2 separate regions of the Homo sapiens genome follow, and region 1 is linked to region 2. Evidence: promoter capture Hi-C in 16 types of primary human blood cells and fetal thymus (Javierre and others, 2016). All regions are on one chromosome and are shown on one strand. Each heading gives the region's core, a stretch centred on a gene start or on the middle of the fragment in contact. The rest is flanking DNA. Distances are from core to core; before and after follow the strand shown. Region 1 overlaps TDRKH-AS1 (TDRKH antisense RNA 1). Region 2 holds the start of CELF3 (CUGBP Elav-like family member 3).

Region 1 (6,959 bases), core at 4,383-6,882, 81 kb after region 2:
TTGAGCATCTTTTAATATATTTAAATGGCAATTTTTTTGTAAATTCTCTGTTTTTATATTCTGTTCATATTTTTATTGGTTATAGGGTCATTTCTTAATACTTGCTGTTTGTATATAAGTTAAAAGTATTTTCCCCGGCCAGGTGTGGTGGGTCACGCCTGTAATCCCAGCACTTTGGGAGGCTGAGGCAGGCTAATCACCTGAGGTCAGGAGTTCAAGACCAGCCTGGCCAACATGCTGAAACCCCGTCTTTATTAAAAATACAAAAATTAGCCGGTTATGGTGGCAAGCGCTTGTAATCCCAGCTACTTGGGAGACTGAGGCAGGAGAATCACTTGAACTGGGGAAGCGGTGGTTGCAGTGAGCCGAGATTGCCACTGCACTCCAGCCTGGGCAACAGAGCGAGACCCCATCTCCAAAAAAAAAAAAAAAAAGTATGTCCCTTTTCCCAGTTTGTTCTATGTATATTGTTTATACATATAACAAGTATTTTCCCTTTTCCAAGTTTGTTCTATGTATATTGCATATTTTGAGGCTGGTCTCCAACTCCTGACCTCAGGTGATCAGCCTGCCTCAGCCTCCCAAAGTGCTAGGATTACAGGCCTGAGCCATTGCCCTCAGCCTGTTTATGGTTATTCTTTGCAAATGTTAAAAATTTTTATGTAATTGAATTTATCAATATTTTCTTTGATAATTTCTGGGTTTCTTTCTTTCTTTTTTTGAGGCAGAGTCTCATTCTGTCGCCCAGGCTGGAGTGCAGTGGCATGATCTTGGCCCACTGTAACCTCTGCTTCCCAGGTTGAAGAGATTCTCGTGCCTCAGCCTCCTGAGTAGTTGGGATTACAGGCATGTACCACCATACCTGGGTAATTTTTGTATTTTTTAGTAGACTCGGAGTAGTTTTGCCATGTTGGCCAGACTGGTCTCAAACTCCTGGCCTCAAGTGATCCACCCGCCTTAGCCTCCCAAAGTATTGGTATTACAGGCGTGAGCCACTGTGCCTGGCCAACTTCTGTGTTTCATATAATTTTTAGTAAAGTCTCCCACTATTTAAGATTATTCTTAAAGCTCCTATGTTTTTTTAAAAAGTACTTTGATAGTGTCTTTGTATATGTAAATATTTGATTCATCTGGAATTTATTTTGGTGTAAAGGTGTGAGATAGAGATCCAATTTTGTTTTGTTTTATTCAAATCCTTCTTATTGAATAACCCATGTTTTCTCCATTGTTTTTGAATGCTACCTTTATAATACCAAATTGCCATATGTATTTGGGTCTATTTCTGGATTTTTTTCATTTTGTTCCATTGATCATTAATTTTTTTTTTTTTTTTTTTAGACGGAGTCTCACTCTGTCACCCAGGCTGGAGTGCAGTGGCACGATCTCGGCTCACTGGAACCTCCAACTCCCTGGTTCAAGCGATTCTCCTGCCTCAGCCTCCCGAATAGCTGGGACTACAGGTGCCCACCACCACACCTGGCTAATTTTTTGTATTTTTAGTAGAGACGGGGTTTCACCGTGTTAGCCAGGATGGTCTCGGTCTCCTGACCTGGTGATCCGCCCGCCTCGGCCTCCCAAAGTGCTGGGATTACAGGCATGAGCCACTGCGCCCGGCCTAAAAATTTTTTAAATTGTATACATTATGGTTTTTTTTTTTACCACAATTTAAAAAATTAATTTATAATATACATGCAGAAAAATGCACAAATGACAAGTATATATCTTGATGAATTTTCACAAATGGAATACATTTGTGTAACCAGCAGCAGATCAAGAAACAGAACATTGCTAGTGCCCCAGAAGCCACTTGTGTGTTCCCTCTCAGTCACTGCTCTTCTCAAGGACAACCACTCTTCTGACTCCTGATACCATAAACTAATTTTGCCTGTTCTTGCTTTTTATATAAAGAGAATCACAGAGTATGTACTCTTTTGTGTCTGGCTTCCTTTGTTCAAATTATTTCTGTGAGATTCAGCCATATTGTGTATAGTTTTAGTCCCTTCATTCTGACTACTGTGTGGTATAATATTGTGAGGCTATATTGAACCATAATTTACTCTTCTATTCTGTTACTGTTATTTTGGCTGGAATCACATATTTTTAGATTATCTAAAGGAGAATGTATGATAAGAATCTTCCTATCTTCCTATACATTCAAGTCATTGGTACCCCATCAGTAGAATTTTAGTTTTCATTATGTAGAATTTACATACTTCTTATTAAAATTATTCCTAGGTATTGAGTGCCTTGATTGCTATAGCTATTTTTACTTTAAAAAAAGTAAAATGGTAGTTCAAATCCAAGGAAGAATGTGTCCAGTGTTGCTATAAAAATACAGACCTACTTTATGGGTCCATCTTCTTCTAGCTCCAGTGAAGGTGGGATGGGCAAAAAAGAGGAAATGAAGTCCAAAAAGGGGGTTACACTTTATAGTTAAACCACAAGAGGAATTTATTTCTTTTTTAAGACAGAGTCTTGCTCTGTTGCCCAGGCTTGGGGCAATGGCATGATCTCTACTCACTGCAACCTCCACCTCCCGGGCTCAAGCGATCCTCCTGCCTCAGCCTCCCAAGTAGCTGAGACTACAGACATGCACCACCACACCCGGCTAATTTTTGTCTTTTTAGCAGAGATGGGGTTTCACCATGTTGCCCAGGCTGGTCTCCAGCTCCTGGGCTCAAGGCATCCACCTGCCTTAGCCTCCCAAAGTGCTGGGATTACAGGAGTGAGTCAGTGTGCTCAGCCTCACAGGAGGAATTTCTTAATCAGAGCAGTGAAAAGCCAGGTGGCATCACTTTTCCCGGATTTTTTTTTTTTTTTTTTGAGATGGAGTCTCACTCTATCATCCAGGCTGGAGTGCAGTGGCACGATCTTGGCTCACTGCAACCTCTGCCTCCCGGGTTCAAATGATCTTCCTGCCTCAGCCTCCCGAATAGCTGGGATTATAGGTGCACACCACCACACCCGGCTAATTTTTGTATTTTTAGTAGAGATGGGGTCTCACCATGTTGCCCAGGCTGATCTTGAACTCCTGATCTCAGGTGATCCACCTGCCTCAGCATCCCAAAGTGCTGGGATTACAGGTGTGAGCCACTATGATCTTATTTTAAAATGAGATTTATTTGATCTTATTTTAAAATCAGATTGAATTCTAACTTGCTGGGTAGGGAGGTTGGGGAGCAGAAGAAATAACTTCGAGTGAGCTGATGCCAAACTCACCCTCAAGTCACTGTACATTTGGGATTTGTCATCTCATTTCTCCTCTCAGATCCCAAATCAGGATTGAAAGATTGAATTGTGAGATGCTGGGATTGAGTGAATTGTAATTTCTTTATTCTCATCTCCAGTCCTAAGAGTCTATTCTCTTTCCCTGAAGGGTGTTCTGAACAGGCTGTGGGAGGCATTAGGTGGAGTGAGTTAAGATAAGTTCTGGGTTTCCCAGAGGGTTCAGTGAGCAGGTGTTCCCTTTAGTAAACTGAAGCAGGAAAGAAGATCTTAGCTAGGGATCTGGGCAGTGAGGGGCTCTGAAATACAAGGAGCCTGGCTCCGGAGCCTTGGCTGCCCACAGAGTTCCTTCCCTGTACAACATACGAATGATTCATTCAAGTGCTGTTCAGCTGTCTGAGTCTGAAAAACAGCACTCATCTCTCCTGTTGCCCATCGTAGGAGTCACCCCCTCCTCCCCACTTAAGCCTCTTCACCAGAAACCAGCGACTGGGAGCAGAGCCTTAGTGTCCTCACTTATGCTGGTGCTACTATTCAATCTTTAGGCCAGATTTAATTGTGGCAGATGCCCTAGGAAAGAATTCTCCTCAGCCTCTCTGACCACCACCACCCAGCTCTATCTTCCTACTTAATTCCCCTTACGAAGCAATTTGGAGGAACAGGACCCAGGAGTCCCTGTTTTCAGATACTCTCCAGCCTGAGTCACCACCGTACTGACTTCTTACAGCAAGAGTTCCACCCAAAGTCTCTTGCCTCTCCCTCAGATGGGTGCTGGTGGGAGAAGGGGACAGGGGAGGAGAGAATGATGGAGCATTTTTGTGTGTTTTCTTGCTGGGCCCATTGTAATACCTGCTCTTACCTGTGCTAACATCCACTTTGAACGGTAGTCCTTCTCAGCCTTTTCTCTTTGCCTCTAATGGACCCTGGGGAGCAAAGGTGGCCTGAGGCCTCAGTTTCTGCTGCAACCTGTGGCTTCTTATAGCAGAATTTTTAACCTATATTCTATGGAGTCTGTGATGGCTTCAGAATAACTGGATAATTTACAAACATTTTTGTTCACAGCTTGCATCAGGGATTCTCAGAGGGATCTGTGACTCAAAAAAAGTTGAGGATCATTGCTTAGCCGGGCTCTCATCTCCTGAATCAGGGATCCAGCACAGCACAGGAAATAGAAGTCAGAAATAGAGAAAGATTGTATGGGGGAAGGAAATGTGAAGTGCTGAGATGGTGCCACAGCATCTTTGGGTCCAGAGTTCTCTCTCAGCTTAGGTAAGACCATGTCTGAGATGGAAGAGAGAGGGGTAGAAGGAGAGCAGGATGGAATGTCCTCAGAAAGGTTCTGTCAAGCAGGGGTAGGCAGAAGGTAGGCAGAGTCAAATTCTTCTCCAATCTGAAGTAGCTCACAGATTGTTCCACCAATCTGTGCAACCTCTCTCTAACCTAGGAGGTTGTTGAGGTTAGAACCCAGAAAAGAACTAGGAAATGTGAAGCCTCCATTTCAGAGAATCCTTTGCTGGAAGCCAGGCATTTCACTGAAGTCCATTTACTCCCTGGAATTTCTGCTCCTTTCTATCAGTCCCTGAGGCAGAGGCTGTAAGGACATTGGGAGAGGGGACTGAGAAGAAAGAGTAAAAACAAAGAAAAACCCCAACATCCTGAATCAGGTGCATTAGAGTTAATGAAGAATGTAAGGACCAATAACTTAGCCCAGTCCCCACTGAAAGTTCAGAGTGGATGCATTGGAAGATTTCTCCTTTCTTACAGGTCGTGTCCTGCAACTGAAAGGCCCTGGGAGAGAGAGCCGTGAGGGCATGGCAGTGAGGATGGCAGTGTGGTGGAAAGGGGGAGTTTTCAATCAGACAGCCATGAGCTCAAATAGCTAGTTACTATTTACTAACTAGCTCTGTGCACTTGAGCACTTACTCTCTTTGACCTTTAGTTTCACCAGCTAAGATGCCTCTCTACTTTATAGGGTTGATGTAAGGATTAAATAAGAAAATATATATAAAGCCACTGACATAGAATAGGCCCTCAATAAATGTTATTTTCTTCTCTTTGAACTGCTGTCCCACCCTGGGCAGAGCCTCCATTAGATTGTCCCCATGATGTGGTACCATACATCCCTGCACATGGGCCACAAAACTTCTGCATACACACCACCCACTCATGTCCTTGGCTGCATTTGCACACTCATCAGCACACACACAGCAGCCTGTGCCATCACAGCTGAGCTGAGGGCAGTCTTCCCGACAGGTAAGATGAGGGACTGGCATGCTAACGCTTGGACAAGCTGTGGAAGTGCTCATCATAGTAAGCTTGTTTCCTGAATGGGCTTCACCCCTCAAAAGTGTTCTGGTAAAGCTGTGAAAGGAGACTAAGGGGCTGTGGTGGGACTAACTCCATAGGCATTTCCTTGAGATTAAATGTGTTTCTTGAGGGATACTTTGTCCACCCACCACTGCCAAGGAGACCTTAGTCTATACGCCAGGTTGCAATGTCTGAAGCTTTGCTGTCCAATATGGTAGCCATTGGCCACATGTGGCTATTGAATGCTTGTAAAGGTAGGTGGTACAGCTGAGGAATGGAATTTTAAATTTGTTTAATTTAAAATTTAAGACAGAGATTCGATTCAGTTATTGGAAAATGTTTTATGTTTGAAAAAACTTAGATGTGTGAATCCACTTTCTCAACAGTGACCTGTATGAAATATAGATTTTTCTGGTGAAAATTTAGTAACTGAATTGCGATGTTGAGATGTACTGTAAGTGTAAAATATACACTGGATTTTAAAGACCTAATATGAAAAAATGTTAAATATTTTATGATTGATTTTTATATTGATAATATATTGAAATGATAATAGTTTGGGTATATTGGGTTAAATAAAGTAAGTATTTAAATGTATCCGTTTCATTTTGATTTTTTAATTTAGTAGCTACTAGAAAATTTGAAATTACATGTGTGACTTAGATTCTGTGTCTGTTGGGTAGCTCTGCTCTGGAGACTTTGAGACTTCAGAGACCTTGGGCAGCAGCATGTCCCAGCACCAGACAGTCATCTGTTCCCCAGAGCGTCAGGGGCTTCCCAGAGAAGATTTCTCTGAACAGCATTGCTGCTTCCGCATTGCAGAGAGGGCAACTAGAGTGAGAACCTTCAGCGTCTGACTCCCAAGTCCCAACCTAATAAGCTGCTGGTGGAAGGTTATGGAAAGGAGCGGGAGGGCTGTGCCCCAGGAAATCTGTCTGGTACATTATACACTAAAGAAGGGGAAGTTGCTGGGATGCTGATTGAGTTGTGTGTGCATGGTGGGTGGGGAGGTTGCAGGCTCAGGGAAACTCGTTTCTCAAGCAGGTCAGTTTCTCCAGCCCCACTCTCCTGTCTGCCTGGTTCTCACATTCACCTCTGGTACTACCCCCATATTCCTATCTCTGCCCCACTAAAGAGCGGCCTGCCTGTGAAGTCCAGCTTCACCTCCTCAGTGGCTCTGAGTGTCTCATCTGTCGGGCAGTTTGAGCTGGGAATCTTCTAATGAGTGGAGTCTCCTCAGAGCAAGGACAACAGCAGCAGGAATCAACTAGAAAGCTCACAATGCTTGCATCTGGTTTGGTGTAGGGGTGGGTGGGAGGAAACTAAGGACGCTGGGTAGATGCTACTGCGCAGAAAGGCTCCCTAGGGCCACGTGATTCTTCCCTTCTCAGTCCCTCCTCCGACTCCTCTCCTCTCCCTGTCACTCC
Region 2 (7,662 bases), core at 3,028-5,527:
TGGTTCAGGGTGAAGGGGGAAGAGCTGGACAGAGGGCAACCCCCACTCCACCACCTCCATGATGCCACACCCTGCTCAGAGGACAAATTCAGGGACCTGTGGCAGAGCCACTCCTGGGAACTCTTAGGGGAGAGAAAAGGAAATGGGGCTCAACAGCTATAGGCCCAGCCCCCATTCTTTCTCTTTCCCTCTGCAGCCCAAAATATCACCCTAGTATGGTAGCACCTTCTAGATTTTTGGGGTGACAGAGATGGGGAGCAAGGAGAGGGGGCTAAATGTCTGATTTTTTTAAAAAAACCTGCAGTAGGAAGGCATGGAGATTAAACAGTAGGAAGAACAGTTATGCAGGAGCTGACACACTGCACACACATGCGTGTGCATGCACACACACTCATGCATGCACACACACACTGCATGCACACACACGTGCAAACACACACTGAGGGGAGAATGCAGGTAGCAGGAGAAGACTTAGGGAAGACAAAGGGTCACAGACATCTGCTCCCCACAACTGCCCTGGGTCTGTTCCTTCAAACCCCTTGGATGGGGGTCCCTCTTGGAGGATGGAACCCTCATTTCCTACTGGAAGCTGTGTCAGGTCCCTCTGGATTCTGTCCCCTGGGACAAGGGCTAAAGTGGAGAATTCAGCGTCACCTAGAAGCTCTGGAGAAGGGCTAGACAATCATTAACCAGGCGCCCTTCTTCCTCACCCCCACCCTGGGCTGGACTTCCTCAAGAAGGGCAGGTGGTGCCTCTCCACACCCAGGATGGAGCTCTGCCTGAGCTGCCAGGCAGCTGGAGGGGCACAGACCTAGGGTGGACACCTGCAGCTGGTACACATGACCTTTGGGGCTCATGCCCATCCCCAGGCTGTCTCTCATCCATGTCTCCACTCCAGTCCTCTTTATCTACCTTTTCCTCTGACCCCCTCTCATTTCTGCAGGGGCTCTGAGATAGGGAGACAACAGAAAAAGACAAACAGCGATGGAGATGAAAACTGTTGATTTGTGAGGGGCCTCCACAGAGAAAAACAGGGAAGGCAAGTTGGGACTGGATGGGGACCAAGCTTCCCAGGGATACGTGTGCCCAAACCCCACACATCTGGCCTGTCAAGAGCTCACATGCCTGTGTGCACAAACACACGCTCGCCTTGGGTCCTGCAGCTCACACACGTGCATGGCCCTTAACTCTGGCTGTGACAGGCAATGCCTATTCTTGACACTGACTGGGATAAGATCTTTGGTGGGCGTGGGGGTTTGGGTGGATTTGCCGCAGTTGGCTTTGCTTTCCTAGCAGTACTCAAAGGTTGAGGCCATGGAAGGGCTTGGGACAATCAGCAAGGCTGGCTGGGAAGAAGACACAAAGAGATAGGACCTTGCAGGAGAGGGGCCACCTCTGAGGCCACCCCTGCCTCCCTGGGCATACCTGGTGGCATCAGGCCTGATCCTCTACAATGTCTGTCCCTGCCCTTGCCTGCTACTTCCAGGCCTACCTCCAGCCCAGACCTGCCCAGGCCTGCCCAGGCCCTGCTCTACCCTGATGCTCTGTGGCTCTGTTCCTGGGACTCTTCCTGGGAGACAGAAGGGAGATGAGAGCTCAAGAACCAGCACCGAGATGCCAATCTAGCCGGCACCAGCTGCCTGTTCTCTGGGCACTCCTCCCTCATCTCACAGCCACCCAGCCTGCCTTTCCAGAGTGACAAAAGAGTGCCTGGGTGCCCCCTGCTCACCCTGATCCACACTTGGTGTCCAGAGACTTTTCCCCACACCTTCCAACCAGCGAGTCCTCCCTCTAGTGTTGCCCCATGGGCAGCTTGGGAAGTGGGGAAGGGGCTGCATCTGCTCCTGGTAAAAGTCATGTTTACGCCACTAATCGCTGCTTTCCTTCTCTCCAGGTAACAAGAAATGCATGCATCTACAGCAAGAAAGATGGATGCTACAGAGAGAGAGGGGGACTTCCTGGTGATGAGAGGAGGTGGAAATTATGCTCAGTGTCAGGAGGGTGGTGAGCCTCCTGCCACTTCTATGGCCCTTCTCAGTCCCCTGGCCCTGCAAAGGGCAGGACTCACCCCTGGAAGCGTCTTCTGTTCGTGCAGGGCGCTCTGGGCCTTCAGGGCTGAATCCCGGGCACAGTATGTCAGGAAGGCACATCCTGAGGAGGGGCAGGGGCAGAGAAACACGGCGGGGGGTGAGTCCTCCATCTCCCCTCTCTGAAAGGCTCCCTTCCAAAGACTGACGACTGGGAAGCTTTCCCTTCTTGTCATCTTCTGCCTGCTGGGGTAGAGAGGTGTCTCCAAGGGGTAGACTCTCTGCCCCAGAAGTGGGGCAGACACCTGGAGGCCTAAATACTGGTGGTGATGGGAGAGGGAGGACACTTGGGCTGTCAGGAGATGGGCTTTGTGTAGGGAGAGAAGGACCATGTGACCGCCAGACAAGTAAGAGTAGTGTGGCTTTCTCTCCTGCTGAGCTGTTCTCCTTTCCCCTCTCTCCCTCACCTCCACCTCCCTCCATCTTGATCACCATCATCCCTCTCTTCTCCCATTTTCCCTATTTCCTCATCTCTCCCCACCTCCACCATAGGCAGGTGGAGGACGGAGAGTGAAATAGAGAAGGGAAGGGAAGAACAGTTAGTTAGCCGGAAGTGCCTCTTCCCTGTGCCAGGTGGAGGGGGAGCTGGTGTGGCCCCTGGGATCCCCGGTGTGTGGAGCTCTCCAAGTGCTGACCCTGACCGCCCCCACTTAGCCGCACAGCCCTTGGATAGGCCTGAGGAGCACCCTCCCTTCTCCCCCACTCTCTTAACTTTCTAAGCCTCCCACACTTTCCAGATCTTTACCAATCTCCAGCCTTCATGCCCTGCTTCCTAGTCCCTCTCTTTAGTCCTGGAGCTGCCCTGCCCAGTCCAGCTCCACGCTTTCCACATTGAACACCTGACCCTGTGTCCTGACCCCCATCCCAATATTATCTGAGGCTGCTCAGATTCTCAGTCTTGCTGCACACGCACACACACACACACCCCTACCCAGCTGCTTATCTCCCAAACCAGCTCTCTTGTCCCTCCATTCTTTCTTGAGTTCATCCCATGACATCAACACACCCATATGTCTGGGATCCACATCTTTGCAGCCGTCTTGACAACTCTTCAGCCAAAAGAGGCCCTCCTTAGTCCTTCACCGGGGTTTCCTGATCACTCTAGCTGAGTTCTTTTTCAGCTCCTCCATCCACTTTCCTCAGGCCTGAACTCTTCTCCTTCCACATCAGCCCTTCCCAGCCGCTCCACCCCTCCAGCCTGGCTTAACTTCCCCCAGCCTCCCAGCCCACCCCGAAGCCTCTTCAGCCTGCCCGACCCCTCACCCTTGTGCAGCCCGGTGTACTTGTCCTTGATGACAGTCAGCTCAAAGATCCGACCAAACTGTTCGAAGATGGGCTTCAGGTCCTTCTCCTCCAGATGCCTCGGGATCTGCCCCACAAACAGCTTGATGGCATCCGGCTCCTTCATTGAGGCGGCCCAGGAGGAGGGGCCGAGGGGAGCAGGGAGAGGCCCAAAGGCCAAGGGGAGCTGCCCAGCAAGGAGATAAGTGGTGGGGCCCGGGGGCCCAGCTGGGGCTGGCTTTCCCTTTGGCCCCCAACCACGCTGCTAAGCAGAGGGGCGGCTCTTCACACAAAGGAGGCCCAGGGAGTTGAGTGCTAGGGGTCAGGGGTCTAGGCAGACGCTGTCATGCCACCAGGGGGCATCGCCTAAACAAACGATCTCCCTCCCAGAGATCTGGCAAATGTCCCAGGATGGGGGTGAGTATGGCCAAGACCTGGAGGGTTAGGTGGTAGCCGGGGGTGCTAGGGCTTAGAGGGCTGGGAACTGGGAGTTGAGATGAGAGCTGGAGGCGGGGAAAGGGCCTGAGGAGGGTGATGGGGAGGAGACTGAGGGGTTAAGGGGCCTGCTATGGTTGCCAGCAGCGTCAGTAAGGGGGGCCCACTCCTGATGTGGGGCAGGTGAATCTCTCGTTGGCTTCCCTGGGAGGACACCTCCCCTGTGGCGGATCCTTCTGCTGGGTCCGAAGATCCCTGATGCCAGATGCTTGATCTCTGATGGCGGCAGGGCTCCAGGGGTCCCTTTTGCCCTGCCGCCCCCCTTCAGGTCCTCCCCTCAGCCCCCCTCCCACCCCCACCCCAGTCCCCGGGCCTGGGCTGCTGCCGGCTGCTCCCGCCGCTGGGGCTGCCTGCTTTCCCGGTCACCTGGGTCCCGGAGCTCTGCTCTCCGGCCGCGCTCTCCTCAACAAAAACCTCCCCCCTCCACACCCCCCTCCCCACTCCCACCTCCTTTCCCCTGACATCAGTGATGTCAGTCTCAGGGGTCGAATACAAATTCTCTACCCTGGAGAGGGACGCACAATCCAGGCACGAGCCACGCCCTCTTTCTATCTCCATCCTCCCTGACTCCCTTCCCGCCCCCAGAAGAGCAGCTGGTCCTGTTGATAATAACCCTTCCCCCATCTTACTCCCCAGTCAGGAGTTGGGCAAAGCACTAAGATGGAGAATTTATAGAGGAACCCTAAAGTGGGGTCCATTGTTCCGGGGGCTGGAGCTGTCCCCGGTGCTGGAAGACTCAGCAGATGGGGGGTGGCGGGGAAAGAGGGGAGCCCGGCATCTGGGGAGCCCCAAGAGTAGAGAGTCAAGGAAAGAAATCAGGGGAAAGAAAAATGAGAAAGGACGGTTGCATAGGCTGAAGGGAAAGGAGATATAGATGGAGAGGGAAGCAGGTCGCAGAGTCTGGGGGAAAAAGAAAAAATGCAGAGAGGAAAAATGGAAAGGGACGTGGAGAAGGAGGAGCAGGATGAGAAGAATGCAGAAAGAGAACTGTATATTTTCCAGAAAAGGAACCAAGAAAAACGATAGCTTTCTGGCATTTGCCGATGCCCCCTTCTCTCCCTCTGGGGGGTTTGTGTGTATAAGTGCGTGGGCAGGGAGGCCGCGGAGGCGGCGCCGCGGGCGCTCTCACTTGTAAGCTCCTTGAAGACCAGGACACCGTTTAATTCAGCATCTTACTGTTCACAGTGTCTAGCACCCTGTCTTGCTCATGCGTAGCAGGAGCTTAACAAACACTCCATGCAAACAACCTCTGACAACAGTGGATTCCTGATTCCTTCAGTGGGAAGAACCACAGCTGTCAAGCTTCCCCTTAGGATGCAGAAACCCAATTACTCTTTCCTTTGCTTCTTTCTTCAGTTGGGTTCTTTGAGTTGGACTCAAATTGAGCCAGGTAGCACAGAAGAGCAGGGGAGGCACATTCGGGGACCATTGCTCCCCTGACCATGGATACTTCTATGGATGATTGGCAGGCTCCACGATCTGGAGGGAGCGTGACCCCTCCATGCACTGGGCCCACTCAGAGCACGCCCTCAGTGCAGGGATTATCTGTGGACATCAAACCTTGTCAGTGGTGGTAGCCCTTGCTTTCTGTCAGTGCTCAGCAACGGGGGCTCTCCTGGGGCTCTGGGCTTTTGTAGAGCACCCTGTCTTCCTGTCATTCCCTTCTTCTCCCCCGGGGTAGGGCTGCTGTTTCCACAGAGGCACTCGTGTCTCTAAACTGTGTCCCAGCTGAGTCCCAGGGGCCTCCATTCCTGAGCTATCACGGCAGGCAGGCTTCTCTTCTGGAAGGGAAATAATAGTAACAGCCAGTGCTTACATGGCTCTTACAGTGTCCCAGGCTTTGTGCCAAGTGCTTTATATTTACTAACTCCTAAACCCTCACCACCCCCCTATGATGTAGATTTTGTCATCTCCAAATAGAGAGGAGGTAACCAAGACACAGAGCTGAAATAACTTGCCTAAAGCCATGCAGCTAGAAAGAGGTCTAGCTGAGACTGGAGCCTGGGCAGTCTGGCTCCTGAGTCCACGCATTTAACTCCCACATCAAACATTCCTCTTGAGAATGGGAGCAGTGGTGAAGTCTGGCCTTTCTTCCTCTTCTGTCTCCATTTAAGCCCTGGATGAGAGAGAGTCTTTCTTTTTACTGCTTGATTCTGTGGACCACCTCCCATCCTTCCTTAGCCTGTTTTTTTGTTGTGGCCTGGAGCCACGCTCTGGCAGGTGCTTGCATTTGAGTGAATGTGTATGTGTGTAGACTTGATTACACTTCATCACATGGATGCCCGGGTCCCCCAAGTAGGGTCCCCTAAGATGGGGTGGCAGTGGGGGGAGGTGCTAGAGGACTCAGTGGTGGGTGCTCAGAAGAAGCGAATGACGGCAGAGCCAGGGAATCAAGAAGGGCACACACATCTTGAAAGTAACTTTCCACTCACCTACCCCACCCCCACTGCTCCTTTCCTTGCCTTCTAATCTGATCTTGGTATTTATGGAGATGCTAAACAGATCATGTCCTCTGAGGATGGAGAAGGGGAAGACCCTATGGCCCTGTTGATCTCATTACTCTATGTCTTCTCAGCAGATCTGCCGCCCTGCTGCTCATTCAGGCTTGGGGCTAATCATATTAATTGAAATATTAAACATTCACAAAAATGAATTAAAATGAACTCCCCTCACTCCTCCTCCCAGTCAGTAATTGGGGAGACAGCTGCAGACAGCAAAATGCGTCCAGTCCTTTGCTTAGTTTGTGGTCCCCAAAGGTGTCAGTCTGAGAGAAGAGGCAGGGTTTAGAGGAGAAGAGTTGTACCACTCATCAGACTCTCCTTGCTGAGTGACGGTGAACACATCTCTGGTGTTCTTTCAGGCCATGGGATGGGAGTCCTGTGAGGTAAAGGCAGGGGAGCCCTGAGACTCAGATGCCTATTCTGGAAAGTTTCTCTCTAGGAGAGAGAGAGGCTTCCAGGATACTTTCTCTGCCCACCACCCCCAAGCTCACCCTCTTTTTTATTCCTCTGCAGTCAAAGCTAGGCTGCCCTACATAAAAAGATTATTGAATTTATAAAGGGAGAGCTCTGATCCTGGCTTTAGATTCTTAGGAAATGAGAAATGCTGGATAATTGGGATATTTTTCAGAAAGGGCAAAATGTGGTGGTATGTGTGGGCAGAGTGGCTAGTCATGAAGTACTTACTGGCTTCCCTGATTGAATACAGAGTGAAGACATCTGCAGCAGAATTTATGAGAGTGCACAAAGAATTGATTCTATAACCTTCCTGCCCTCAAGTGGCTTCCACCTCAAGTGGAAGGTAAGACAGGCCAACACAATACATAATAGTGAGTACTGAGACGCTGTTAAAAAAACAAAAAGTAGCCCCTCTCATACATGGGCATTTGGGTCATAGGATGTGATCAGTGAAGAAAGGCTTGATTGATTATCAAAGCACAAGAAGATCACAGATTGGCAGACGGAGGGTATCAATCATTTCCTACTTGGAGGTGGGGAGGTAGAGAACACTGTGCATGCCTGTGTGTGTTTGAGTGTGTAGGTTTGCTGGTCCAGGCTCTGGCATTGTCTAATATAATACAAGCCACATATATGGTTTAAAAATGTCTAGTAGCCATATATAAAAGCAAAAAGAAACAAGAGAAATTACTTTTAATAATAAATGTTATTTAACCTGATATATCCAAAATACTATTTCAACATGTAAATCAATTACATGTTATTAATGAGATTTTTTTCATACCAAGCCTTCAAAATCCTGTGTGTATTTTATATTTGCTGCACATTTAACACCTACAGCC

Evidence for each region. The method cuts DNA at HindIII sites, captures the fragments that hold promoters and counts their contacts. A CHiCAGO score of 5 or more calls a contact.
Region 1: a fragment that was not itself captured here is called in contact with the fragment with the promoter of CELF3 in region 2 in 2 of 17 cell types (erythroblasts and M1 macrophages); the score reaches 5.8 in erythroblasts.

The regions. Positions count from the first base shown.
Region 1 is chr1:151,792,477-151,799,435 of GRCh38, forward strand. TDRKH-AS1 (TDRKH antisense RNA 1) reads left to right here. Exons shown (of 2, transcript NR_146292.1): 2 at 1,339-1,926. Among named protein-coding and RNA genes, the nearest start is that of TDRKH-AS1, 5.2 kb to the left of the region's middle. The HindIII fragment of the contact is 189 bases long and covers 5,539-5,727 here.
Region 2 is chr1:151,712,526-151,720,187 of GRCh38, forward strand. CELF3 (CUGBP Elav-like family member 3) reads right to left here and starts at 4,278. Exons shown (of 13, transcript NM_007185.7): 1 at 3,351-4,278; 2 at 2,069-2,151. The coding sequence starts at 3,495. It also overlaps a transcript of RIIAD1 not described here. RefSeq lists an enhancer at 4,208-4,502. The HindIII fragment of the contact is 2,919 bases long and covers 2,245-5,163 here.